Regions from separate parts of the Homo sapiens genome. Here regions 1, 2, 3, 4 and 5 are each linked to region 6. Evidence: promoter capture Hi-C in 16 types of primary human blood cells and fetal thymus (Javierre and others, 2016). All regions are on one chromosome and are shown on one strand. The core of a region is centred on a gene start or on the middle of the fragment in contact, and the rest is flanking DNA. Distances in the headings are between cores, read along the strand shown. Region 1 has its middle 39 kb from the start of GINS3. Region 2 overlaps LOC105371293 (a long non-coding RNA gene). Region 3 has its middle 7.3 kb from the start of PRSS54. Region 4 has its middle 2.9 kb from the start of LINC02137. Region 5 has its middle 35 kb from the start of PRSS54. Region 6 holds the start of GOT2 (glutamic-oxaloacetic transaminase 2).

Region 1 (4,313 bases), core at 652-3,151, 380 kb before region 6:
GAAATGATAAATGTTGAAAGTGATGGATATGGCAATTAGCCTGATTTGATCATTGTGCAAATGTACACATGCACAGAAACATCAAATGATACCCCATAAATATATACAATTATGCATCAATTATAAATAAACCATTAATTTTCAAGAAAGAGGAGGGAGAAAGAGGTTCAGGGCAGACAAAACAATGACTTAATCATACAATACCAACCACCATAAACATAATCTAGTCGTTTTCTGTCCTCCTTGCCTCCTGTATCACTGTCACCAAGTTGAAATGAGCTGGCTACATACACACAGGGGTTGGGATACCATCTGGTACCGCCCCGAAGATTACCGAAGAGTTGCAGTCTTCTGCAAAGGGAAACATATGATTTATAAAAACTAAGCCTGTATTGAATAAGAGCCTGCATTGCATAACCTGGGAAGAGGCTGTGGTTGACTCAGTTAGCTTTATTCATTGCCTTATCAATTAAGGCATTAGACATTAGGATGCCATGAACAGAGCCCCACCACCATGAGCTTTGGAAACTGAGTTCACAGCCCAGCTCCACCACCTTGCAGGCCATTTCACGCCTGGGCACCTCCAAGTGCCTGAGAAAATTTTAACCCAGGTGGCAAAGTAGAGCCCCTGTGTTAGGCAGGCTTTGGAGGACCGAAGACGATTTATTGGGGTTTAATGGGAAGGCTTATCATGAAGCCTTATGAAGCTTAACATAAAGGCTTATCATGAAGCCTTATGAAGCTTATCAGGTGATTTATTAGGGGTTTATCATGAAGGCATCTGCAACAGAAAGATCAGATACACCCAGCCAGGTCCTGCCTACCAGACTGCACAGAAACGGCCACAGCTGGGCCTGATGGAGACCCATGTAGTAGTAAGAGTGAAGCCTGGCTCTGAGAACAGAATATTTTGCCTCCCTCTTCCCTCCCCCTGCCCTTGTTTGGGTCAGTCCCCACCACTTTCCCATCCAACCTCCTTCTCCACTCTGCACCTTTCTCTACCTCATTGCTTCTGTTTATTCATGGCAATCTGTGCCTGATGGGCTCCTGCCATGCATCTTTCTATCTTCTGCTTTTGCCACTAACCCTGTCTCCCCTTGTATTTTTGAGTTAAAATTCTCTGCAGAGAATCTAATATGCCCAGCTAATCACCATCAACCCTGATTGGGTGGAACGGTTTCAGTGGGGCCTTTCACAGCCTGCTGATTCTTCAGGGGTGGGATGATCTGGCGTCAGCTCTCATCCCTGGTTGGGGCATCAGTGGTCCAGGAGTGGAGTTTCATGGCGTGGAAAGTGACTGATCCCTCTGCACAGGACTAGGGCAGAGCTGTTTTCGAGGAGAGGAGCACCGAGATTATGACAGGTACCATCTTGACCTAGTTCAATGCCCACCTGTACAGTAGGCATTCAGCATGTGTTTCCTCTTATCTTTTTTATTTTATTTCATTTTATTTTGTTTATTTTTGAGATGCAGTTTTGCACCTGTTGCCCAGGCTGGAGTACGGTGGCAGGGTCTCAGTTCACTGCAACCTCCACCCCCAGGTTCAAGCAATTCTCCTGCCTTAGCCTTCTGAGTAGCTAGGATTACAAATTTCCTTGTCCTAATAGGCCTGGGAGCGCTACCGGAGACCGGGGCTTATTTCATCCCTTATCTTCAACCGTAAAAGACGGACAGTCCCAGAGTGGCCATTTCAGAGACCTACCCCCTGGGAACGCATTGTCTTTCTCAGGGCTGTTCCTTGCTGAGAAAAAGAATTCAGTGATATTTCTCCTATTTGCTTTTGAAAGAAGAGAAATATGGCTCCATTCTGCGTGGCTCTCAGGAAGCCAGACCTAATGGTTATCTTCCTTTTTCCCTGAACACTGCTGTTATCCTGTTCTTTTCTCAAGGTGCCCAGATTTCATATTGTTTAAACAATTTGTGCAGTTAACGCAATCATCACAGGGTCCTGAGGCGACATACATCCTCAGCTTATGAAGATGACAGGATTAAGAGATTAAAGTAAAGACAGGCAGAGGAAATGACAAGAGTATTGATTGGGGAAGTGATAAATGTCCATGAAATCTTCACAATTTATGTTCAGAGACTGCAGTAAAGACAGGCATAAGAAATTATAAAAGTATTAATTTGGGGAACTAATAAATGTTCATGAAATCTTCACAATTTACATTCTTCTGCCATACTTCAGCCAGTCCCTCCGTTCAGGGTCCCTGACTTCCCACAACAGTAACCATCATTCTACTCTCTGCCTCCATGAGATGAATTTTTTAGCACCCACATATGAGTGAGAACACGCAATATCTGTCTTTCTGTGCCTGGCTTATTTCACTTAGCATAACAACCTCCAGTTTCATCCATGCTGCTGCAAATGGCTGAACAGTATTCTTGTGTGTGTGTGTGTGTGTGTGTGTGTGTGTGTGTGTGCATGTATGTATCACATTTTGTCTATCCATTCATCCACTGATGAACTCTGAGGTTGATTCCATATCTTGGCTATTGTCAATAGTGCTGCAATAAACATGAGGGTGCAGGTATCCCTTTGATATACTGATTTCCTTTCCTTTGGGTAAATGCCCAGTAGTGGGATTGCTGGATTTTATGGTAGTTCGATTTTTTGTTTCTTAAGAAGTTTTCATAGTGTCTTCTGTAATGGCTGTACTAATTTACATTCCTATGAACAGTGTATAAGAGTTCCCTTTCCTCTGCATTCTCACCAGCATTTGCTATTTTTCGTCTTCTTGATAATAGCCATTCTAACTGGGGTGAGCTGTTATCTCATCGTGGTTTTGATTTGCATTTCTCTGATTATTAGTGATGTGGAGCATTTTTGCATAGATATGTTGGCCATTCATATGTCTTCTTTTGAGAAATGTCTATTTGAAATGTCTTTGTCCAGTTTTTAATGGGATTATTTTGTTTTGTTTTTGTTTTTATTGTTGATTGTTTGAGTTCCTTCTATATTCTGGATATTAGTTCCTTGTTGGATGAATATTTTGCAAACATTTTCTCCCATTCTACAGGTTGTCTCTTCACTCTGTTGATTGTTTTCTTTGCTGTGCAGAAGCTTTTTAGTTTAATATAGTCCTATTTGTCTATTTTTGATTTTGTTGCCTGTCCTTTTGAAGTCTTTGCCGTAAAACCTTTGTCTAGGCTCTAGACCAATGTTCTAATGCATTTTCTGTATGTTTTCTTCTTGTGGTTTTATAGTTTTGAGTCTTATGTTTAAGTTTTTAATCCCTTCTTAGTTGATTTTTATATCTAGTGAGAGACAGGGATCTAGTTTCATTCTTGTGCATATAGATATCCAGTTTTCCCAGCATTCCCCATGTATTAAAGAGACTGTGCTTTCCCCAGTGTATGTTCTTGACACCTTTGTTGAAAATCAGTTGTCTGTAAATAGGTGGGTTTATTTCTGGGTATTCTATTGTGTTCCTTTGGGCTATGTGTCTGCTTTTATTCCAATATTAGGCTGTTTTGTTTACTATAGCTTTGTGCTATATTTTGAAGTCAGGTAGTGTGATGCCTCCAGCTTTGTTCTTTTTACTCAGGATTGCTTTGAATATTCAAGGTCAAGTTCTTTTGTGGTTCCAGAAAAATTTACAATTTTCTTTCTATATCTGTGAAGAATGTTATTGGTATTTTATAGGGATTGCATTGAATCTATAGATTGCTTTGTGTAGTATAGTTATTTTAATAATATAAATTCTTCTTATTCATGGGCATGTGATGTCTTTCCATTTGTTTGTGTTCTCTTCAATTTCTTTCATCAGTGTTTTGTAGTTGTCATTGTAGGGGTCTTTCACCTCCTTGGTTAAATTTATTCCTAGGTATTTTATTTACTTTTCTGTAGCTATTGTAGATGGGGGATAGCTTCTCAATTTCTTTTTCAGCTAGTTCATTATTGGTGTTAAGAAATGCTGCTGATTTTTTTTTTTTTTTTTGAGACGGAATCTCACTCTGTCGCCCAGTCTGGAGTGCAATGGTACAATCTTGGCTCACTGCAACCTCCACCTCCTGGGTTCAAGCAATTCTTCCGCCTCAGCCTCTTGAGTAGCTGGGATTATAGGCACCCACCATCATGCCTGGCTAATTTTTGTATTTTTGTAGAGACAGAGTTTCATCATGTTGGCCAGGCTGGTCTTGAACTCCTGACCTCAGGTGATCCACCCGCCTTGGCCTCCCAAAGTGCTGGGATTACAGGCATGAGCCACCATGCGCAGCCAGAAATGCTACTGATTGTTATAAGTTGATTTTGTATCCTGCAACTTTACTAAATTTGTTTATCAATTCTGAGTTTTTTGATGGGTTTTTC
Region 2 (4,358 bases), core at 1,804-4,303, 490 kb before region 6:
GGTGATCTGCCCACCTCGGCCTCCCAAAGTGCTTGGATTACAGGCATGAGCCATTGCGCCCGGCCTCATCTTGCAGTTTTATTGACTCACAACAAACTGCAGAGTGAGGAGATAACTGCAATAATGTAGACAAAAGATGATGGTGGCTTGGACTGGGGTGGTTGTAGTAATGAGAAGAGGTCAAGTTCTAGCTTTGCTCTGAAGGTTGGGCCAGTGGGATCTGCTTACAGATCAGATGTGGAGGTGAGAGAAGGAGGAGAGTTAAGAGTTAGTCAAGGATTACTCCCAGGTTTGTTGGAAGGAGTAATGAAGTTGTCCTGGAGGGATGAAGTTGTCAGATACTGAGATGGGGAAGAATGGGTTTGGAGGGAGGGGGAAAGTCATGAGTTTAGTGGAGGTATGTTAAGTTTTACGTGTCCATTACACATGCAAGTGCAGATGTTGAGTAGGTGATTAGATGTAGACAAGGCTGGAGTAGAGAAGACAGCATGTTTATTTGTTTGCTTTACAGCTTTATTGAGGTGTAATTGAAATAAAACAAACTGCAAGTATATAAATATTGTACAGTGTACAACTTGAGAAAGTTTTTTTTTTTTTTCTTTTTTTTTTTTTTCAGCTGGAGTCTCACTCTGTCACCAGGCTGGAGTGCAGCGTTATGATCTTGGCTTACTGCAACCTTTGCCTCCCTGGTTCAAGTGATTCTCCTGCCTTAGCCTCCCAAGTAGCTGGGACTACAGGCGCACGCCACCACGCCCAGCTAAGTTTTGTATTTTTAGTAGAGACAGGGCTTCACCATGTTGGCGAGGACGGTCTAGATCTCTTGACCTCGTGATCTGCCTGCCTTGGTCTCCCGAAGTGCTGGGGTTACAGGTGTGAGCTACCGCGTCTGGATGATAAGTTTTGATATATGTTTATACCCATGAAATCGCTCCCAAAAGCTTCCTTGTGCCCCTGTGTGATCCCCTCCACCATATTCCCACTTCCCTGCCCCCTCCATATCCCAAGCAGCCATTAATCTGCTCTTCATCATTGTAAATTAGTTTACACTTTCTAGCATTTTATACAAATAGAATCATACAGCATGTACTCTTTCTAAAATCTGACTTCTTTCACTCAAACTATTTTGAGATTTATGCATGTTGTTGCCTGCGTCCATGGTTCATTCCTTTCCTTTTTTTTTGGATGATGTATAGCGTTCTATGGCTCATATATATGTGTGGATTTGTTTCTGGACTCTATTTTATTCCATTGATCCATTGTTGATTTGTCACCAATGGCATGCTGTCTCAATTACTGTAGCATTATAACAAGTCTTACAGTCAGGTAATGTAAGTCATTCAACTTTGTTCTTCCTCTTCCTTTGTTCTTTCTTCTAAAGTTGTTTTTTCTTTGTTCTTTGAATTTCCGTGTGGCTGTTAGAATCAGCTTATCAATTCACAAAAATAAAGTCTGATGGGATTTTAATTACAGTTGCATTGACTCTACAGATTAATTACAGGATAACTGATAGCTTAATATTTAGCGCTGTGATCCATGAAGGTGGTCTCTCTCTCTCTCTCTCTCTCTCTCTCTCTCTGCAGTACAGGCATTTTAGTATTTTAAATTTGTGTCTAAATACTGCTTTGGATGCATACTATTGATTTTAATATATGGTGTTTAATTTTTATTCAATTTAAAGTACTTTCTAATTTCCTTATTGATTTTTTTAACCTATTTGTGATTTAAGAGTGTGTTATCTTGTTTCTAAATATTAGAGGTTTTTCCAAATGTCTTTCTGTTTCATTTCTAATTTAATTCTATTGTGGTGAGAGAACATAACTTTGTATGGCAAATACTTTTAAATGTATTGAAATTTATTGTTTAACGAATATGGTCTTCTTAGTAATGTTCTGTGTGCACTTGGAAAGAATGTGAGTTCTGCTGTTGTTGGGTGGAGTGTTTCAGAAATGTCCGTTAGGACACTTCAGTTAATAAAGCTGCTCAAATCTTCTATTTCCTTACTTATTTTTATGTCCATTTAGCCTATCAATTTTTGAGAGATTGGTGTTGATATCTTTGAAGTCTTTAATTGTGAATTCGTCTGTCTGTTTCTTCTTGCAGTTCTATTGGTTTTTGCTTCATGGATTTTGAAGCTGTCTTATTGGATGCATAAATATCATGTCTTTATGAATTCATCCCTTTATTATTATAAACTGACCCTGTTTATTACAGGTAATATCCTTTGCTCTGAAATCTACTATGTCTGATATTAACATAATTACTTCACCTTTCTTTGGTGTTTGTATTATTGTTTGACTAGTGTTTGCATCTTTTTCCCTTTTACTTTTAACCCACTTGTGTCTTTATATTTAAAGTGTATTTTTTATAGGCAGCATGTATTTAGGTTTTGCTTTTTTATTCAATCAGATAACCTTTGCCTTTTAATCAGAATGTTTAGACCAATTCCCTTTGGTGTAATTATTGATATGGTTGGATTTTAATCTACCATCTTGATATTTTCTACTTATTCTTTTTTAAAAACAGCTTTATTGATATATAATTCACATACTTAACAATTCACCCACTTAAAGAGTAAATTCAGTGACTGTTACTATATTCAAAAGTTGTGCATCTATCACCCCAGTCAATTGTAGAACGTTTTTCTTACCCCAGAAGAAACTCCACATGCCTTATTCATCACTTATCCCTCATTTTCCCTATCCCGGCCATAAACAACCACTAATCTATTTCTTGTCTCCATGTATCTGCTTATTTTTGACATTTCATATACATAAAATCATACAATATGTGGTCCTTTGTGATTTTCTTTCTTTTTACTTATCGTAATGTTTTCATGCTTTGTCCTTGTTGTATGTATCCATACTTCATTCGTTTTTTATTGCCAAATAATATTACATTTTATAGATACAACATTTGTTCATCTGCTCATCAGTTGATAGGCATTTGTGTCTTTTTGGTTAGTTTAAATAATACCACTGTGCACATTCATGTACAAGTTCATGCATGGATATGTGTTTTAATTTCTTTTGAGTATATACTAGGAGTAGAATTGGTGGATCACATGGTAACTCTATGTTTAGCCTTTTAGTAACAACCAAACTTTGTTTTCTGAAGGAGCTGCACCATTTTCCATTCCCACCAGCAGTTTATGGGGGTTCCAATTTCTCCACATTCTTACTGATACTTGTTTTTATCTGTCTTTTTAATTATATATTATATGTTCTATTATATATTATGCTTCCATGATGACTAATGATGTTGGGCATCTTTTCATGTGCTTATTGATCACTTGTATATCTTTTTTGGATAAATGTCCATTCAAATCATTTGCTTATTTATTTATTACTTTTTTGAGACGGAGTTTCGCTCTTGTTGCCAGGCTGGAATGCAATGGCGTGATCTCGGCTCACTGCAACTTCCGCCTCCCGGGTTCAAGTGATGTCCGCCACCACACCTGGCTAAATTTTGTGTTTTTAGTAGAGACAGGGTTTCACCATGTTGGCTAGGCTGGTTTTGAACTCCTGACCTCAAGTGATCTGCCCGCCTCAGCCTCCCAAAGTGCTGGGATTACCGGCATGAGCCACTGAGCCTGGCCTATTTGCTTATCTTTTAATTATTGAGTTGTAATAATAGTTCTTTATGTATCCTGGATATAAATCTCTCATCATATATATGATTTGCAATTTTTCTCTCATTCTGTGGATTGTCTTTTCACTTTCTTGATGGTGTTCTATGAAGCACAAAAGTTTTTAATAAGTCCAACTTATCTATTTTTTCTTTATTGCCTTGCTTCTATTTGTTCTTTTTGTTTATATTTCCCTTTTTCTGCCTTCTTTTGGATCCATTCGAATATTTTATAATTCCACTTTATCTCCTTTGTTGACTTAGCTGTATTAGTTTCATAGGCTATTGTGATATATTGCCACAAACTTTGTGGCTTAAAACAACACAAATTTATTCTCTTATAGTTCCAGAGGCCAGAAGTCCAAAATGGGTCTCACTCAGCAGGGCTGTATTTTCTCTAGAGGCTTAAGGGGAGAATTCTCCAGTTTTTAGAGCTTCATTCCTTGCATTCCTTGGCTCCTAGGCCCTCTCCTCCATCTTCAAAGTCCACAGCATAGCATCTTCAAGTCTCTCTCTGCTGAGGTTGTCACATTGCTTTCTCTCTTCTGTAGTAGAATCTCCTTCTGCCTCCCTCTTGTAAGGACACTTGTGATTGCTTTTAGGGCCCACTTACATAATCCAGGATAACCACTCCATTTTAAGACCTTTAACTTAATCGCTAAAATTGTTAAGACCTTTTCCCCCTTTACAAGGTAATATTCATAGGTTCCAATGATTAGAACCTGGATATCTTT
Region 3 (4,364 bases), core at 677-3,176, 430 kb before region 6:
AGTCTGCAGTGATGCTCAAAGCTGAAGGGGCTGAGCCTCACAACATAGTACACACTCAAAGCTGGACTAATGGATGCCCAGTCGAGCAAAACATAATTTCCAGGTAGTCATCGTGCTTCCTGTTTGTACTTTTGGATTTTTGGTTTCTATTGTTTGGCTTTATTCACTCAAATTTTTGGCTGCTTGCTTGAACTCATCCTACTCTCAGATTCATATGTCCCAGTGAAAGTGATTCACATTAGAGTCTCAGCCACTCTTTTTCTGAGTTACAGTATTTACACTTCTGTTTTTCATCACTGTTTTTACACTTCACTGAACCTCTTTTAACCTTCCCCTCATTTTTGTGAGTTGGGGCTATAATGCCATGCAGAGCTGATAGTCCCACAGGCCCAGGGTAAACCTGCAACCAACCCTACCAGATTCCCTCATCTCTGGAATTTGAGTCTTGAGCCAAGGGACAAAAAGAGTGTAACAGCTGGAGCTGCCACGCTAGGCCAACAGCAGGTTCTTTGGCTCCACTGCCACATCAGGAGCTCTTCCCTGTCCTGTCCTCCCTGAGAGTTGGAGCTTCTATGTTCTATCTCAAATCCCACCAGCACATTTCTTTTCTGCATGCTAGTCAGAGACAGTTTGTGTTGCTTCTGACCAAAAAAACCCTTACTGATCCACGGGTCTTGTGCTTGGAGTATCTTTCATGCCTAAACATTTTAATTCCAAGTCTGATCAATGACTAGTGCCAGTAAGGTCTTTTCAACAATAAAAAGAGCAGCAGTCATTGGAAAACAATTATTTGTTAGAGTAGACTTGTGTTTCATCATGGTTAATGTTCATAGAGTTTTTATAAAAACACATTGTGGAACATTTTGTATATACAAAAGAATACATTTAATGTATATCAATAACAGCATAAACACAAAAGCAACAACATTCTGAGGTACCTGCAACCCAGTTTATGAATTATGTTAGAACATCACCACGGAGTATATATGAAGCCCCTTGTTGGCCCTTCCCCATCATGTTCCTCTTCCTCTCCAAGGAGAACAGCACAGGTTTCTTTCATTCACCATCATCTAGTAGGATTTACCTCTGGAATGCAAGGATGGTTCATCAACCACAAGTCTATAAATCTGATATACCACATTAACAGAATGAAGCATAGAAATTGTTATCATCTCGATACATGGAGAAAAGCATTTAATAAAATTCAACACCCTTTCATGATTAAAAAAACTCACAACAAATTAAGTATAGAAGGAATATAGCTCAATATAATAAAAGTCATATTATGAGATAATATTATTATCAAGCCCACAACTAATATCATACTCAACAGTGAAAAGCTGAAAGCTTTTCCTCTAGGATCAGGAACAAGACAAGGATGCCCACTTTTACCGTTTCAATTAAATATATTAATAGTACTGGAGGTCCTAGCCAGAACAACTAGGCAAGAAAAAGAAATAAAAAGCATCCAGATCAGAAAGAAAGAAGTAAAGTTGTCTTTGTTGGCAGATGACATGACTTTATATATATAGAAAACCCTAAATATTCTACCAAAAAAATGTTAGGTTTGAGCCTCAGGAAAGGAGAAAACAAAAAAAACCTGTTAGGACTAATAAACAAATTCAGTAGAGTGGCAGGATACAAAATCAACATACAAAAACCAGTAGCATTTCTGTCCACTAAGAATAAACTATCTAAAAAAGAAATCAAGAAAACAATCCCATGTATAATAGCATAAAAATTACTTAGGAATAAATTTAACTAAGGAGGTGAATGATCTGTATGCTAAAAACTATAAAATGTTGCTGAAAAAAATGAAGAAGACACAAATGAATGGAAAGATACCCCATATTCATGGATTGAAAGAATTAATATTGTTAAAAGTTCCACGTAATCTATAGATCAAATGCAATCCCTATCAAAATTCCAATGACATTTTTCTTTTCTTTTTTTTTAAATATATAAACAAAAGAGGTTTAATTGACTCACAGTTCTGCATGGCTGGGGATGCCTCAGGAAACTTACAATCATGGTGGAGGGCCAAGGGGAAGCAAGGCATGTCTTACATGGCATCAGGAGAGAGCTCCAGTGACATTTTTCATACAAATGGAAAAAAAATCCTAAAATTGGTATGGAACCACAGAAGACCCTGAATAGCCAAAGCAATCTTAAGCAAAAAGAACAAAGCTGGAGACGTCATACTATCTGACTTCAAAATATATGTATGGTACCATAAAATAGACATATAGACCAATAGAATAGAATAGAGCACCCAGAAATAAATTTGTACATTTATGGTCAATTTATCTTCAGCGAAGATGGCAAGAACATGCAATAGGAAAAGAATAGTCTTTTCAATAAATGGTCTTGGGAAAATTGGATGTCTACATGTAGAAGAATAAAATTAGGCCATTATCTCATGCCACATAAAAATAAATTCAAAATGGATTAGAGACTTAAACTTAAGACCTGAAACTATAAAACTATTAGACAAAAACATAGAGGAAAAGCTTCTTGACATTGGCCTGGGTGATGATTTTTTGGATTTGACTTGAAAACACAGGCAACAAAAGCCAAAATAGACAAATGAGATTGCATCAAACTAAAAAGTGTTTTTGTTTATTTGTTTGTTTGTTTGTTTTTCACAAGAAAGAAAACAAAACAGGGCCAGGCACGGTGGCTCACACCTGTAATCCCAGCACTTTGGTAGGCCGAGGTGGGCGGATCACCTGAGGTTGGGAGTTTGAGACCAGCCTGACCAACATGGAGAAACCCTGTCTCTACTAAAAATACAAAATTAGCCGGGCGTGGTGGCGCATGCCTGTAATCCCAGCTACTCGGGAGGCTGAGGCAGGCGAATAGCTTGAACCTGGGAGGCAGAGGTTGCGGTGAGCCGAGATCGCACCATTGCACTCCAGCCTGAGCAACAAGAGCGAAGACTCCATCTCAAAAAAAAAAAAAAAAAAAAGATAAAATACCAACAGAGTAAAGAGACAACTATGAAATGGGAAAAAATATTTTCAAACCATACATTCTGATAAGAGGTTAATATCCAAAATACATAAGAAACTCAAACAACTCAATAACAAGAAAATAAATCACCCAATTAAAAAATTGACAAAGAACCTGAAATAGGTATTTCTCAAAAGAAGACACACAAATGGCCCACAGGTATATGGAAAAAATGTTCAACATCACTAATCATCAGAGAAATGCAAATCAAAACTATAAATCATCTCACACCTGTTATTATCAAAAAGACAAAAACTAACAAGTGTTGGCAAGGATGTGGAAAAAAAGGAAATCTTGTACACTATTGGTGGGAATATAAAACCCATTATGGGAAGGAATATGGAAGTTCCTCAAAATATTAAAAATAGAACTACCCTATGATCTAGTAATCCCACTTCTGGGTGTGTATACAAATGAAATCACTGTGTCAATGAGATATCTGCACTCCTGTGTTCATTGCAGCATTATTCACAATAGCCAAGATATGAAAGCAACCTAAGTGTTCATCAATGGATAAATGGATTTAAAAAAACCCGTAGTACATATACACACAATAGAATGCTATTCAGCCTTAAGAAAGAAGAAAATTCATTTTCTTTCTTTTTTTTAAACATGGATATGTTCTTTAGTGGTGATTTCTGAGATTTTGGTGCACCCATCACCTGAACAGTATGCACTGTACCCAATGTGTAGTCTTTTATCCCTCACTGCCCCTTTTCCCTGAGTCCCCAAAGTCCACTGTATCATTCTTATGCCTTTGCATCCACATAGATCAGCTCCCAGTTATAAGTGAGAACATACGATGCTTGGTTTTCCATTCCTGAGTTACTTCACTTAGAATAATGGTCTCCAATTCCATCCAGGTTGCTGCGAATGCTCATTATTTCCTTCCTTTTTATCCACTCATATATATATATATATATATATATATATATATATATATATATATGCACACACACACATATATATGTATGTATGTATATATATAACATTTTATATATTATCTATATCTATATATAGATAGATAGATATAACATTTTCTTTATCCACTTTGGGTTGGTTCCATATTTTTGCAATTTTAAATTGTGCTGCTATAAACATGCATATGCAAGTATCTCTTTTGTATAATGACTTCTTTTCCTCTGGGTAGATACTCAGTAGTGGCATTGCTGGATCAAATGGTAGATCTACTTTTAGTTCTTTAAGGAATCTTCGCTCTGCTTTCCATAGTGGAAAGTTTACATTCCAACTAATGGTGTAAAAGTGTTCCCTTTTTACCACATTTGCACCAACATCTATTAATTTTTGATTTTTTTATTACAGCTATTCTTGCAGGAGTAAGGTGGTATTGC
Region 4 (4,430 bases), core at 228-2,727, 320 kb before region 6:
TTTGTCAGTTATCTGTGTTGCAAAATTCTCCCATTCTGTAGCTTGTCTTTTAATTTTCTTTGTAGTATCTTTTTTTATTTTTCCTTAGAAACAAGGTCTCCCTGTGTCACCCAGGCTGGAGTGCAGTTGTGGGATCATAGCTCATTGCAGCCTTGAACTCCTAGGCTCAAGCAGTCCTCCCACCTCAGCCTCCCGACTAGCTGGGACTATAGGTACATGCCACCACACCTGACTTCTTTTACTTATTTAGAGACAGAATCTTGCTGTATTTCCCAGGCTAGTCTTGAACTCCTTGCCTCAAGTGATCCTCCTGCCTCAGCCTCCTGAATCACTGGGATTACAGGCATGCAACACCACACCTGGCTAAATTTTTTTTCTTTTTTTTTCTGTATTTTTTTTATTATTATATTTTAAGTTCTAGGGTACATGTGCATAACGTGCAGGTTTGTTATATATGTATACATGTGCCATGTTGGTGTGCTGCACCCATTAACTCGTCATTTACATTAGGAATATCTCCTAATGCTTTCCCTCCCCCCTCCCCCCACCCAACAACAGGCCCTGGTTTTAAAATATATTCATTGGCCATTTATGCTTCCTCTTTTGTGAAATGCCTGTTTACGTGTTTTACCCATTGTTCTACTGGATTGTTTATCTTTTTACTGATTTACAGGTGTTCTTTTTTTTTTTTTTTTTTTTTTTTTTGTGGAGACAGAGTCTCACTCTGTCACCCAGACTGGAGTGCAGTGGCGCCATCTCAGCTCACTGCAACCTACACCTTCCAGGTTCTAGCCATTCTCCTGCCTCAGCCTCCTGAGTAGCTGGGATTACAGGTGCCTGCCACAATGCCCAGCTAATTTTATATGTATTATCTCATTTAATTTCCACAAAAACCCTAAGAGATGAATTATTGTTATCCCCCTTTTACAGATAAAGAAATAGACTCAGTGAGGTTAAGTGTGTGCCGAAGGTCACACAGCAACCAGTGCTGGGCCCAGGGCTGGAAACCAGGTCAGGCTGATCCTGAGATCCGACTCTTCTCTGCTCTGCTGCACTGTGCGATGAGCAACAGAGCAGGCCAGGGCAGCCTCTTCCCACCGCACTATCAGGTGTCTCTCGCTTCAGTCCTGGTCCTCCCAACACCGTTTCTATAGGACTTGCCATCCCCTCTTCCCACCGCACTATCAGGCGTCTCTCGCTTCAGTCCCGGTCCTCCCAACACCGTTTCTATAGGACTCGCCATCCCCTCTTCCAACCGCACTATCAGGCGTCTCTCGCTTCAGTCCTGGTCCTCCCAACGCCATTTCTATAGGACTCGCTATCCCTTCTAAGTGTCTCCTTTGGCAAAATTGGCCCAACCTATGCCTATGTCATATCACCATTATCTGCAGTAAAAACAGGACTCCTCCTTCTGTTTCAAAAGACTGCTCATGTCATTGACAACCCGTGCTCATTCTCGAGATTGCAAGCTGCTATTTTTGAAAAGTTATTTTGCATGACATTTTGCCTCAGGGGCCCTTGGTCTGTTTAATCTGGGTATCTCAGTTGGCAGAACACTGTGTGGCTCTCCGGATTGATTACATGTGTCTAATCTGCAGCTCTGGCTGTTGCAAAAACTCCCTTGCCTCCTTCTCTCTGCCTCACCCCCAACTGCCTTGCTCAAAACAGGTGATGGGTGGCTCATGGTTGGTCCGGAGGAAGGGGGAATCCGAGAAAGCAGAGGCTACACAGTTCAAACAGTCCCCTGCAGGGCAGGCTTGGCTGTTTTCTGGCTTCTTCTGCTGGGAATTTCACTGACAGCAGAAATTAATCCCACTTATTCACTCATTCATTCGCCCCTCCAGTGAGGGTCTGAAGTCAGGAGTGGAATGGTCATCCCTCACTGCCCTGTGGAGTTTACACTGTAAAGGGCAAGGCGGACTATAAACGGGATTACAATAAGATCTGTGAGGTGAATTAAAGGGCATGTGTAAATAAAGACAGAGTCTCGCTCTGTCACTCAGGCTTGAGTGCAGTGGCACAACCCTAGCTCACTGCAGCTTTGAACTCCTGGGCTCAAGCGATCTCCACGCCTCAACCTCCCAAGTAGCTAGTACTACAAGTGTGTGCCACCACATCTGGCTAATTTTTCTTGTTCTTAATTTTTATAGAGACGGAGTTCTCACTATGTTGCCCAGGCTGGTCTAGAACTCCTGGCTTCAAGCAATCATCCCACCTCAGCCTCCCAAAGATTGGGATTACAGGTGTGAGCCACTTTGCCCGGCTTTCAGGGACCTTCTTTAGTGAGTCCAAAGAGGGGCTCTCTGAGGAAAGATGCAGAGCTGGCTGGGTGAAGAGCCCAGAGGAGGTCATCATTCCAAGCAGTGAGAGGAGGTGAGAAGTGTGTGGCTTGGTTGGCCTGCTTTAAGAAACAAAAGCAGGCCTGGGTGGCAGAGGTGTGGATGAGAGTGACAGGAGATGAGGGAGTGGGGAGGAGGCAGAGAGCAGATCTTTTGAGGCATGAATATGATAGAGCTGGCCGTAGGGGTGGAGCTGACAGTCAGGGAGTGGGAGGACATTATTAGATCATCACAAGTGTGAGCCCAGGACGGGCCATACACATTGCCTTGAGAGCCTTTGGCAGGGCCACCTTCCAAGTCAGGCTGTGTGTGACTGGAGGGCCTCCGGGGAAGGTAACTTTTAAGCAAAAGTCCATAACAGGAACTGGCTGCAGTGACTCATGCCTGTAATCCCCCTGCACTTTGGGAGGCCAAGATGGATCACTTGAGGTCAGGAATTCGAGACCAGCCTTGCCAACATGGCAAACCCCGTCTCCACTAAAAATACAAAAAATAGCCAGGCATGGTGGTGTGGCCTGTAGTCCCAGCTACTCAGAAGGCTGAGGCAGGAGACTCACTTAAACCCGGGAGGTGGAGTTTGCAGCGAGCCCAGATCATGCCACTGCACTCCAGCCTGGGTGACAGACCAAGACTCCGTCTCAAAAAAAATAAATAAATAAACCCACCACAGTGGTTCTCAAAGGTGTGGTCCCCAGGCCAGCTGCATCAGCACCACCTGTGAATTTGCTAGAACTACAGATTCCAGCGCCCACCCCAGACCTACTGAGTCCTCCAGAGCACAGAGCACGGAGCCTAACACGTGCTGAATTCATGGCCTCCGAATTGCAAGCTGTCAAGTTCCAGAGTGTGCTGACGTGTTAAGATGCACAGAGTCGTGTCATGGGGACACACCCTAGCCAGCAGGTTGTGCCCACCCCGGCGTGGAATGAGGACAGAGCCCAGCTTGGGTGGGTTTAGCTGATTTTAAGGTGCCAGGGTAGAAACAGAAATGCGTCTGCACAGCTGTGCTGGGTGAAATTTCACACTTGGCAAGGTGTGAACAGAATTAACATTTGCTGGAACAGGTTGGAAGCCTTTAGACTGTGAGTTACAAAATCAGGCAAAGAAAGAAAAAAAAAGGAAGGGGGAAAATTAGGTGATCTTCAACCTCATTAACTCAAGCCCAGCTGCAGAGGATGTTACCAAATTATCCACTAAGAAAACCCACCTGGGGCTGAGAATAAGCCTGAGACTTCAGGCCCCAGGGGTCCTTTTGAAAAGAAAGTTCTCCGCCTGAGAACAGTTGCTCTCACGAAAGCGCCTCCTCCACAGCCCCTGCAGAGCATCAGGCCTCGACACTTTAATTGCTCCGATAGAAACAAGCTAATGGGGTTTTAATAAAAATAGAACCCAAATAGGCGTTGATCCCCTATTTTTTGCAACCAGAGGCACTGCCACAGTTTCAGTGCCATCGGTGCTAGCTAGGGGGGTCTCCATGCCATGAGACCCTGGTGAGAATTAAATAAGGAAAACAAGCTTATGGATTCGATATTTTGAGAGCTTCAACAAAAACCAGAACTCTGTCAACAACAGCCTGGTTTATCCTAGGTCCAGGGAAAAACAGGTCAAGACACATGCCCCAAATCACTAAAGGCAATAAAAGCTTGGTAGGGGTAGGGGTGCCCGCGGTCCTGCTCCCCAGCACTGGAGTGAGCAGGACACTGGCTGCCCCTCAAGATAATTTGAATCTTCAAAAAGTAAGTAAGATGTCCGTTTTTTTGGCCAGGTGTGGTGGCTCACGCCTGTAATCCCAGCACTTTGGGAGATGGAGGAGGGTGGATCACCTGAGGTCAGGAGTTCAAGACCAGCCTGGCCAACATGGCATAATCCTATCTCTACTAAAAATACAAAAATCAGGTGGGCATGGTGGCTCACACCTGTAATCTCAACTACTCAGGAGGCTGAGGCATGAGAATGGCTTGAACCCAGGAGGCAGAGGTTGCAGTGAGCCGAGATTGCGCCACTGCACTCCAGCCTGGGCGACAGAGCAAGACGCTGTCTCAAAAAAAAGTCCGTTTTTAGTGCATCTGTAGTTTCAGGTAGGATCATTTA
Region 5 (4,616 bases), core at 243-2,742, 410 kb before region 6:
ATAACCAGTTTTAGAACATTTTTGTTTTATTTTTATTTTTATTTTTTTGAGACGGAGTTTCACTCTTGTTGCCTGGGCTGGAGTGCAGCGGCACGATCTCAGCTCACCACAACCTCTGCCTCCCCGGGTTCAAGTGATTCTCCTGCCTCAGCCTCCCGAGTAGCTGGGATTACAGGCATGCGCCACCACGCCTGGCTAATTTTGTATTTTTGATAGAGACGGGGTTTCTCGATGTTGGTCAGGCTGGTCTCAAACTCCTGACCTGAGGTGATCCGCCCATCTCAGCTTCCTGAAGTGCTGGGATTACAGGCGTGAGCCACCATGCCTGGCCAGAACATTTTTATTACCACTGAAAAAACTCCATCCCTTGGCCAGGTGGTGGCACACGCCTTTAATCCCAGCACTTTGGGAGGCTGAAGTGGGAGGATCACCTGAGGTAAGGAGTTTGAGACCAGCCTGGCCAATATGATGAAATCCCATCTCTACTAAAAAATACAAAAATTAGCTGGACATGCTGATGCATGCCTGTAGTCCCGGCTACTTGGGAGGCTGAGGTGGGAGGATCGCTTGAGCCCAGGAGGTGGAGGTTGCAGTCAGCCGAGATGGCACCACTGCACTCTAGCCTGGGCGACAGCAAGAGACTCTGTCTCAAAAAAAAAAAAAAGAAAAGAAAAAGAAAAAGAAAAGAAAAGAAAAGAAAAAATCCCATCTTCATTAACAGCCATTCCCCATTTCTCCCCATCCCCACCCCGCCGGCAACCACTAATCTGCTTTCTGCATCTGTGGATTTGCCTATTCTGGAAATTTTATATAAATGGAATCCTGTGGAGAGAGAGAATGGAGAATGACTGCTTAATGGGGTACAGAAATGATGAAAAAGTTCTGGAGCTAGATAGTGGGGATGGTTGCAAAACATTGAGAATGTATTTAACATGCCTAAGTCGTACACTTTAAAATGGTTAACCAGTCTGGGCAACATGGTGAAACCCTGTCTCTACAAAAAATACAAATAAATAAATAAATAATAGCCAGGCATGGTGGTCCCAGCTACTTGGGAGGCTGAGGTGAGAGGATTGCTTGAGTCCACGAGGTTGAAGCTGCAGTGAGCTGAGACTGCTCTACTGCACTCCAGGCTGGGTAATAGAATGAGACTCTGTCTCAAAAAAAAATTATTAAAAAAATCTATAATACAGTGGTCGATTTTATGTTATGGTCGATTTTATGTAATGTGTTTTTTACCATAATAATTTTTAAAATCCAGACTAAGGAAGGCTAGTATTTGTGAAGTCATTAGACAGAACCATATCTAATTTAAGAATTAGTCATGAATATTGAAGTGGATTACTTTTTGTCACATTGTACTAAGAGAAACAACAAACATTGCCAACAAAATATCACCCAAAACAACAAATATTTAAGCTTATTTAACCAAAACATGGAGGTTAGGCATTTTGTTTCTTCAAAAGCAAGGTATAATAGTTTTAACAAATCAAACATATGGAGCTAAAAAAGATGTTTTAGCTATAAATATAAAATTTTAATAGATTGTTACCTAAGTGACTATGTAAAGCTTGGAATGTCACATTATGATGCTGGCTTCACCTTGCTCTGTTTATTTACAGACTAGGAAAGAGAGAAAGATAAGCCTCCAGGTTTATCGAGCTCCTAAAAATTTCTCACTTTGGCAGCCTTAAACTATTGTGCAAGAGCAAGTGGGGTCAGGCTGTGTGACTCATGCCTATAATCCCAAGAAGCTACCAGCTTTCAGGTCCCAAATATAATAAGACTCAAAGAAATGGCATCAAATTCTAGAGCAAAATCAAGCATCTACCATGGTTGTGCTGAATATCCTTCTGTTTCCACATAAGGGAACATTAGAGTCATGGCTTGCGACTTTAAAAATAAAAGTAACCAGGCGTAGTGGCACACACCTGTAGTCCCAGCTACTCTGGAGGCTGAGGTGGGAAGCTTGCTTGAGCCCAGGAGATCAAGGCTGCAGTGAACATGATTGTGCCACTGCACTGTAGCCTGAGTGACAGAGCAAGACCCAGTCTCTATTTTTTAAAAAACCATTTAAGAAAACTGCAACCAAGCATTAATGCAGTGGTTTGTGAACTTGGAGGCACGTTAGAATCATCTAAGGGCTTTTAGAATCTTCCATGTCCTGGTCACACCCAAGACCAATTTTTTAAAAAAATTTTTATTTTATTTTAGGTTCCGGGATACATGTGCAGAACATGCAGGTTTGTTACATAGGTAAACATGTGCCATGGTGGTTTGCTGTACCTATCAACCCATTATGTAAGTATTAAGCCCAGCATGCATTAGCTATTAGTCCTGACGCTTTCCCTCCCCTGCCTCATCGACAGGCCCCAGTGTGTGTTGTTCCCCTCCCTGTGTCCATGTATTCTCATTGTTCATCTCCCACTTATGAGTGAGAATATAGAGGTGTTTGGTTTTCTGTTCCTGTGTTAGTTTGCTGAGGATGATGGCTTCCAGCTTTATCTATGTCACTGCAAAGAACATGATCTCATTGCTTTTTATGGCTACATAGTATTCCATGCTGTATATGTACCACATTTTCTTTATCCAGTCTATCATTGATGGGCATTTGGGTTGGTTCCAAGTCTTTGCTATTGTGAATAGGGCTGCAATAAACATACATGTGCATGTATCTTTATAATATAATGATTTATATTCCTTTGGGTATATACCCAAATATATACCCCGTAATGGGATTGCTGGGTCAAATATTTCTGGTTCTAGATCCTTGAGGAATTGCCACACTGCCATCCACAGTTGTTGAATTAATTTACATTCCCACCAACAGGGTAAAAGCGTTCCTATTTCTCTGCAGTTTCGCCAGCATCTGTTGTTTCTTGACTTTTTAATAATTGCCTTTCTGACTACACCAGACCAATTGACTCAGACATTGGGTGTGAGACCCAGGCATCAGTATGGCTTTAAAGCCCCCCAGGTGAGTCCAATGTGCAGAGGCTGGCTGTCATGGCAAGAGATGCTTGACAATTAAGAAATTGGGAACACCTGGCCGGAGGCAGTGGCTCACGCCTGTAATCCCAGCACTTTGGGAGGCCGAGGCGGGCAGATCACCTGAGGTCGGGAGTTCAAGGCCAGCCTGACCAACATGGAGAAACCCTATCTCTACTAAAAATACAAAATTAGCCAGGCGTCATGGCACATGCCTGTAATCCCAGCTACTCGGGAAGCAGAGGCAGGAGAATCCCTTGAACCTGGGAGGTGGAGGTTGTGGTGAGCTGAGATCATGCCATTGCACTCCAGCCTGGGCAACAAGAGTGAAACTCTGTTTCAAAAAAAAAAAAAAGAAAAGAAATTGGGAACACCTTCTATCTGCCAGCGGTAAAGCTACTCAATTTTGCAGAAATAAACATGTAAGAGAAATCAAAGTCCTGCTCCCAAAAGAACGTTTCAGAAGTTGTTTTGAAAGCTCTGGGCAAGCTACATGGATGAAAGAAATGCTACAAGGGACTTGTGAACCTCGCTTCCATTCAATCACTCATTCATTCATTCATTCATTTATTCATTCACCGATTCACTCGCAAAGTCATTTATCACTGTTATTTATTCCTTCACTCAGTCAGTCATTCACGCAACATTTCTTAGGCTCCCCTCTGTGCCAAGTCCTGGAGAAACTGAAATAGAAGGAAGGATGGTGCCCCCCCTGAGAAAGCTTGTGATCTGGGATGACGGTGAGGGGTAACAGATGGTGGCAATTGAGTTCAGGGTGCTCAGGAAGAAGCCTGTCCTGGGTGTGATGAAGTGTGGGGGGAAGGGGTGTGTCACCCCGCTGAGTGGTGAGGCGGTGGAGGAGGGGGCTCCCTTGAAAACAACTTTCTAGGGAGAGGACACCTGAATAAGACCTGAGAAAGGAGCAGGTGTGAGCCCATCTGCAACAAATCCCCTGTGAGTGTGGCTCTCAGCCTGGCTGCCCCTGGGAGATTCCTTCCTGTCTGGCTCCACCCCCAGAGACTCAGGTTTCACGGGGCTACAGTGGGGCTCGGGCATTCGCATGCTTTTAAAATATCATGATTTTTTTAAATTGAAGTGAAATTCACATAGCATAAAATTTTTAAATTGAAGTGAAATTCACATAGCATAAAATTTTTAAATTGAAGTGAAATTCACATAGCATAAAATTCACCATTTTAAAGTGGACAATGCAGTGGCATTCAGCACATTCACACAACCACCCCCTCTACTTGGTTTCAAAACATTTTTATCATCCCCAAAATAAGACCCTGTGTACCCATTAAACAACCACTGCCCATTCCACCTTCCCCCAATCCCTGGTGACCACAAATCTGCTTTCTCTCGTTATGGATTTATTTATTTATTTTATTTTATTTATTTGTTTATTTATTTATTTATTTTTGAGACAGAGTCTTACTCTGTCTCCCAAGCTGGAGTGCAGTGGTGCGATCTCGGCTCACTGCAGGCTCCGCCTCCTGGGTTCACGCCATTCTCCTGCCTCAGCCTCCCGAGTAGCTGGGATTACAGGCATCCAACACCACGCCCGGCTAATTTTTTGTATTTTTAGTAGAGATGGGGTTTCACCGTGTTAGCCAGGATGGTCTTGA
Region 6 (4,872 bases), core at 1,899-4,398:
TTGTTGCTCAGGCTGGAGTGCAGCGGCGTGATCAGCGGGCTCACTGCAACTCTTCACCTCTCAAGCGATCAGGCTCGAGCGACCCTCCCACCTCAGCCTCCCAAGTAGCTGGGACTCCAGGTGCACATCACCATGCCCGGCTAATTTTTGTATTTTATGTAGAGACGGGGTCTTGCCATGTTGCCCAGCTGGTCTAGAACTCCCGAGCTCAAGCAATCCACCTGCCTCAGCCTCCCAAAGTGCTAGAATTACAGGTGTGAGCTACTGTGCCTGGTCTGTGATCTTTTAACCAATGGTTATGGTACCACAGTTGCACACTGCATTTTTAAAGTCTCACGAGACCTGCTCAGTTATTTCACCAAAAAGTAAATAATCAGAATTAAATAATTAAAAGCAAATCATTATAAATCAAAATACATTAGCATCTTTTTTTTTCTTCATTGAACTGCAACTATGTCTGATCTCATGTCACTATACATTTACAGTACAAGTCAACAAGAGAAAGTTTTATTCGCAGTGTTTAGCTAAATGATACACTTGAACTTACAAAGAGTTCCACATATTTACAAAGAGTTCCAAGTATGCCATTGGATAAATCCTCAGTTCTTCAGAATAACAACAGACAAGGTTTTATTGTATTAGAATGAGCCATTTAAATAGAAATGTCGATGAATTCAGTTTAAGTATTTTCCACTTTTACCATTTGGAGCTAGGTAAAGATCACTTCCACAGTGTAAGGAGGGAAGTCTGATCTTGCCTGAAGAGTTAACCTTCATGCCAAATATGGCATCTGATTCTGTCACCTAATCAGGTATCATTATTTAAATCTGAAGAGTAATTCCTCAACATTAGGTGCTCAACTATTTCAAGAATTTATTTTCTGGTCAGGTGGGGTTGCTTAGCCTATAATCCCAGCGCTTTGCGGGGCTGATGTGGGAGGAGTCTGAGACCAACACAGGGAGACTCTGTCTCTACAAAAAATAAAAAATTAGCTGGGTGTGGTGGTGTATGCCTGCAGTCCCAGCTACTTGGGAGGCTGAAGCAGGAGGACCACTTGAGCCTGGAAGGTCAGGCTGCAGTGAGCCATGATTGTGCCACTGCACTCCAGCCTGGGCAACACAGTGAGACCCTGTATTTAAAGAAAAAAAAAAAGGGAATTTTTTTTGGTACATATTTTGCAGCACTGTGGTTCCCCTGTGTAAGATTAGTCGAGAGAAGGAACAATAAAATCTGTAACTGGTTATGATCAATTAGTTGTAAACACCATTACACTTGGACCAGCCTATGTTCAGATTTTGATCTAAGATACAACATTAAAATGTCATACTGTATTTGTTTCCGTTGCATTACGTGAAAAATCAGGGCTTAAAATAAAAATATCCAATATAAGAGACATGCCAGCAACTGTTAATAGTGCTGAGATGTAACAGTGAATATAAAGTAGGTAAAGTCTCCGCTCTCATGGAACTTACATTCTAGTAAGAAAAATACAGAAAAGAAAAATGAGTCAGACTCTCAAACTGAAAGAATGACTAACCCTGACCCCAAGGGATTTTCACCAAGCACTAGAGCTTCAGGTGATCTAGCCAAATCCATAAAACAAGGTATTATTTTAAGATTACTGCAATAGGGAAACATACTTTCTCTTGACGGAAATTTTAAGCACTCCTTTGGTTTTCCAAATTTGTTGCATAAATAACTCCTCCTGGCTCTGGCCCACTAGGTAGGCAGACTTAAAGAGCACACGTTGACAGTGGGCCAGGAAGGAGCCAAGTCAGGAAGAGAAAAAAGTGCGAAGCCTGGGCAAAACTGTACTGCCAAGGCTGTGGGGCCTTGGAAAGGACAGATAGTTCTGCTGGCTGAAAGACACAGAGCATACATTCAAACGAAAGGCCAAGCTACGCTTTGCTCCTTGCAGTTAATACCTGCTTGGGGGTGGTTTTAAAACTCAGTTCCTTATTAAGGTAGTGCTTAAGGAGAGTGCTCCAAATCGGCTTCTTGAGTTGAATTAATCTTCTGGCTCCGGTCTCCACTGGGAATGAATTACTAGAGCTCGTTTCAAGCTCTGAAATTTCCCTCCATACTATTATACACGCCACAGTACGAAATTACGTTTGTCATTTTTTGAGCAATGACCATTTGTCATTGTCCTTCCCTCGCCTTGTTCACAGTTGTATCGTTGGCATCTGGTCCAGAGCCTGGCTCTGAGAAACTGCAGTTACGAAATATTTACTGAATGAAAGAGCACAGGGAGATGGAGAGGAAGATTGATAGCCTCCCTGCAACCGGACCTCCTTAGGGGCAATAAGGAAAAAACAAAACAAAACAAAAAAAGAGACACACTACACCTCGACCCTTTCCCAAGCAAAGGCCAAACGGGCCCCGGGGTCACAGGGACCTCGGGGGGTCGCAAGGTCAGGAGAATGCCGCACGCCAAGGTCGCAGGTGCGGGAAGGAAAGCGAGGCCCGAATGCCGGCGCCCCGGAAACCTTCCTCTCGCGCTCTTCCCGCCCAGGGCACACACGCGGCAGCCAGCCGCCGCCGGCCCACCGACTCGGGCGGGCCGGGGGCCAGGACAGGTGCGCCCGCCGCCCCCAGGGCACCCTATCAAGGGCACGGTCGTTACCCGGCGCCGCTGCCCCAGTACTATCCGCACCCCTCCCACTGAATGGGAGTCCGGCAACCGCCGAGGGCCACACTTCCTTTCCCTAGGGATTGCGTTGCACGCCTTCCTGCAGGGCCCAGTGCGGGGACCAGAGGGATGTGGGATCCTGAGGATCACTGTGGGGCACGGACGCTCAATCCTCAGTCCCCAGTAAGGGAAAGCCGAGGGGGTGGCAGAAAAGTGTGTGTGTGTGCGTGTGAGTGACAGTGTGTATTTGGGGGCCGGGAGGGGTGAATGTCCTGGGGTGCTCGCAGCTCGGCGGGGCAGGGCCATCGCCCTGGCTCCATCTCCGTTTCCCTTGGCTTACCTGGCTCTGGCAGAGGCCGCGGCGGCGAGGCCCGGGTGGAAGGCGGCGGCGATCCCGGGGAGGACGCGGCCGGAGTGCAGCAGGGCCATGGTGGACCGTAGGAGGGCAGTGGGCAGCCGCAGGACGGAGCAGAGGGCGAGCGGACACACACACAGGGAACCGGCTCCTGCTGAAGGTAAGGACAGGGACTTCCCTGGGCCAGAGCGGCCGCGTGCTGGGCCCGAGCCACGTCACAGCGATCCCTGGCGGCCGGCGGGCGGAGCGGCGTGGGCTCAGCGGAGGTCGTGGAAGAGGATGACTGCACAGTTTACCTACGCCCAGCCCTTGCTGCGCTTCATTCATTTAATCCAGCTGGGCCAGGCCTGGCCGGCCGAAGAGGTGGCTGCTGTTATGGCAGTTTGAAAGATGAGAAAATGTAGGCTGACATAGTTGACGTATTTTGTCTGATGCCTTACAGCCATTAGGACCCAAGGTGGCCTTACTTTCAACCCTAATAGTTTCCCTAAGCACAAGTCATGTCACGTCGTTCCTGAATGTTTCCTTATCCCCCACCCTTTTTTTTTTTTTTTTTTTTTTGAGATGGAGTTTCACTCTGTCACCCAGGCTGGAGTGCAGTGGCGTGATTTCGGCTCACTACAACCTCTGCCTCCCAGGTTCAAGCGATTCTCCTGCCTCAGCTCCCCGAGTAGCTGGGTTACAGGTGCCACCACCACGCCCGGCTAATTTTTGTATTTTTAGTAGAGACGGGGGTTTCACCATGTTGACCAGTCTGGTCTCAAACTCCTGATCTCAAGTGATCTGCCCGTCTCAGTCTCCCAAGACTGCTAGGATTACAGGCATGAGCCACCGCACCTGGCTTCCTTATCCCTTTTATGGAGAGGGTCGCATGTGTATTTTGTGGGGCAGTTGTGAGGATTAATAAGATTAGCAGATTATGTCTAAAACAGGGCCTGATTTAGTAAGCACAAAATAACCCATGGTCATTAATGACAAACTCGTGTATGTCAAATCCTGATAACTGTTTGTGGAAGGAAATGAATCGGTTTTGAAGGAAATGAATCGGTTTTAAAGGAAAAAGCAAATGAATTTCAGACACATCCACAAGTCAAACGAGTCTTTCTCATGTGTAGTCTATTTCTCTGATACTCGTCTCTTAAACCAAGGTAGGGGCCCGGTGTGTTGGCTTATGCCTGTAAACCCAACACTTTGGTAGACTGAGGCAGGAGGATAGCATGAAAACAAGAGTCTGAGACCAGCCTGGGTAACAAGATGAAACCCCCATCTCTTAAAAAAATAAAAAAAAATTAGCAGGATGTGGTGTTGCGTGCCTGTTCCAGCTACTCAGAAGGCTGAGGAGGGAGGATTGCTTGAGCCCATTAATTCAAGAGTGCAGGCCGGGCGCGGTGGCTCACGCCTGTAATCCCAGCACTTTGGGAGGCCGAGGCAGGCGGATCACGAGGTCAGGAGATCGAGTCCATCCTGGCTAACCCTCTCTCTACTAAAAAAATACAAAAAAAAAGTAGCCGGGCATAGTGGCGGGCGCCTGTAGTCCCAGCTACTCGGGAGGCTGAGGCAGGAGAATGGCATGAACCCGGGAGGCGGAGCTTGCAGTGAGCCAAGATCGCGCCACTGCACTCCAGCCTGGGCAACAGAGCCAGACTCCGACTCAAAAAAAAAAAAAAAAAAAGAGTGCAGTGAGCCAGGATTGCGCTACTGCACTCCAGCCTGGGTAACAGAGTGAGACGCTGGCTCTAAATAAATAAATAAATACATACATAAATAAAATAAAACCGAGATAGAACTGTGTACCTTGGCAATTTAATATCTCCTCTGTGGCTCCACGTTGCCTGAATGGTAAAGTCTAAACCCCTACTTAGGGCCACATTCTAGGTCCTTCCGG

The links. Contacts are between HindIII fragments. The CHiCAGO score rates a contact against its expected background, and 5 or more counts as called.
Region 1: a contact is called between a fragment that was not itself captured here and the fragment with the promoter of GOT2 in region 6, in 1 of 17 cell types (naive B cells). The highest score is 5.0, in naive B cells.
Region 2: a fragment that was not itself captured here is called in contact with the fragment with the promoter of GOT2 in region 6 in 1 of 17 cell types (total CD4 T cells); the score reaches 5.1 in total CD4 T cells.
Region 3: a contact is called between a fragment that was not itself captured here and the fragment with the promoter of GOT2 in region 6, in 1 of 17 cell types (naive CD8 T cells). The highest score is 5.0, in naive CD8 T cells.
Region 4: a fragment that was not itself captured here is called in contact with the fragment with the promoter of GOT2 in region 6 in 1 of 17 cell types (naive CD8 T cells); the score reaches 5.4 in naive CD8 T cells.
Region 5: a contact is called between a fragment that was not itself captured here and the fragment with the promoter of GOT2 in region 6, in 9 of 17 cell types (total B cells, total CD8 T cells, total CD4 T cells and 6 more). The highest score is 10.8, in total B cells.

What each region holds. Positions count from the first base shown.
Region 1 is chr16:58,351,227-58,355,539 of GRCh38, forward strand. No RefSeq gene overlaps it. Among named protein-coding and RNA genes, the nearest start is that of GINS3, 39 kb to the right of the region's middle. The HindIII fragment of the contact is 2,323 bases long and covers 741-3,063 here.
Region 2 is chr16:58,237,726-58,242,083 of GRCh38, forward strand. It overlaps LOC105371293 (a long non-coding RNA gene), which reads right to left. Exons shown (of 4, transcript XR_933630.2): 4 at 848-886. Among named protein-coding and RNA genes, the nearest start is that of CFAP263, 10 kb to the right of the region's middle. The HindIII fragment of the contact is 4,235 bases long and covers 937-4,358 here.
Region 3 is chr16:58,300,167-58,304,530 of GRCh38, forward strand. No RefSeq gene overlaps it. Among named protein-coding and RNA genes, the nearest start is that of PRSS54, 7.3 kb to the left of the region's middle. The HindIII fragment of the contact is 1,163 bases long and covers 1,346-2,508 here.
Region 4 is chr16:58,416,214-58,420,643 of GRCh38, forward strand. No RefSeq gene overlaps it. Among named protein-coding and RNA genes, the nearest start is that of LINC02137, 2.9 kb to the right of the region's middle. RefSeq lists an enhancer at 1,655-1,764. The HindIII fragment of the contact is 4,750 bases long and covers 1-3,852 here.
Region 5 is chr16:58,327,649-58,332,264 of GRCh38, forward strand. No RefSeq gene overlaps it. Among named protein-coding and RNA genes, the nearest start is that of PRSS54, 35 kb to the left of the region's middle. The HindIII fragment of the contact is 151 bases long and covers 1,418-1,568 here.
Region 6 is chr16:58,731,168-58,736,039 of GRCh38, forward strand. GOT2 (glutamic-oxaloacetic transaminase 2) reads right to left here and starts at 3,149. Exons shown (of 10, transcript NM_002080.4): 1 at 2,973-3,149. The coding sequence starts at 3,061. RefSeq lists silencers at 2,474-2,563, 2,664-2,753 and enhancers at 2,876-3,494, 3,194-3,273. The HindIII fragment of the contact is 10,522 bases long and covers 1-4,872 here.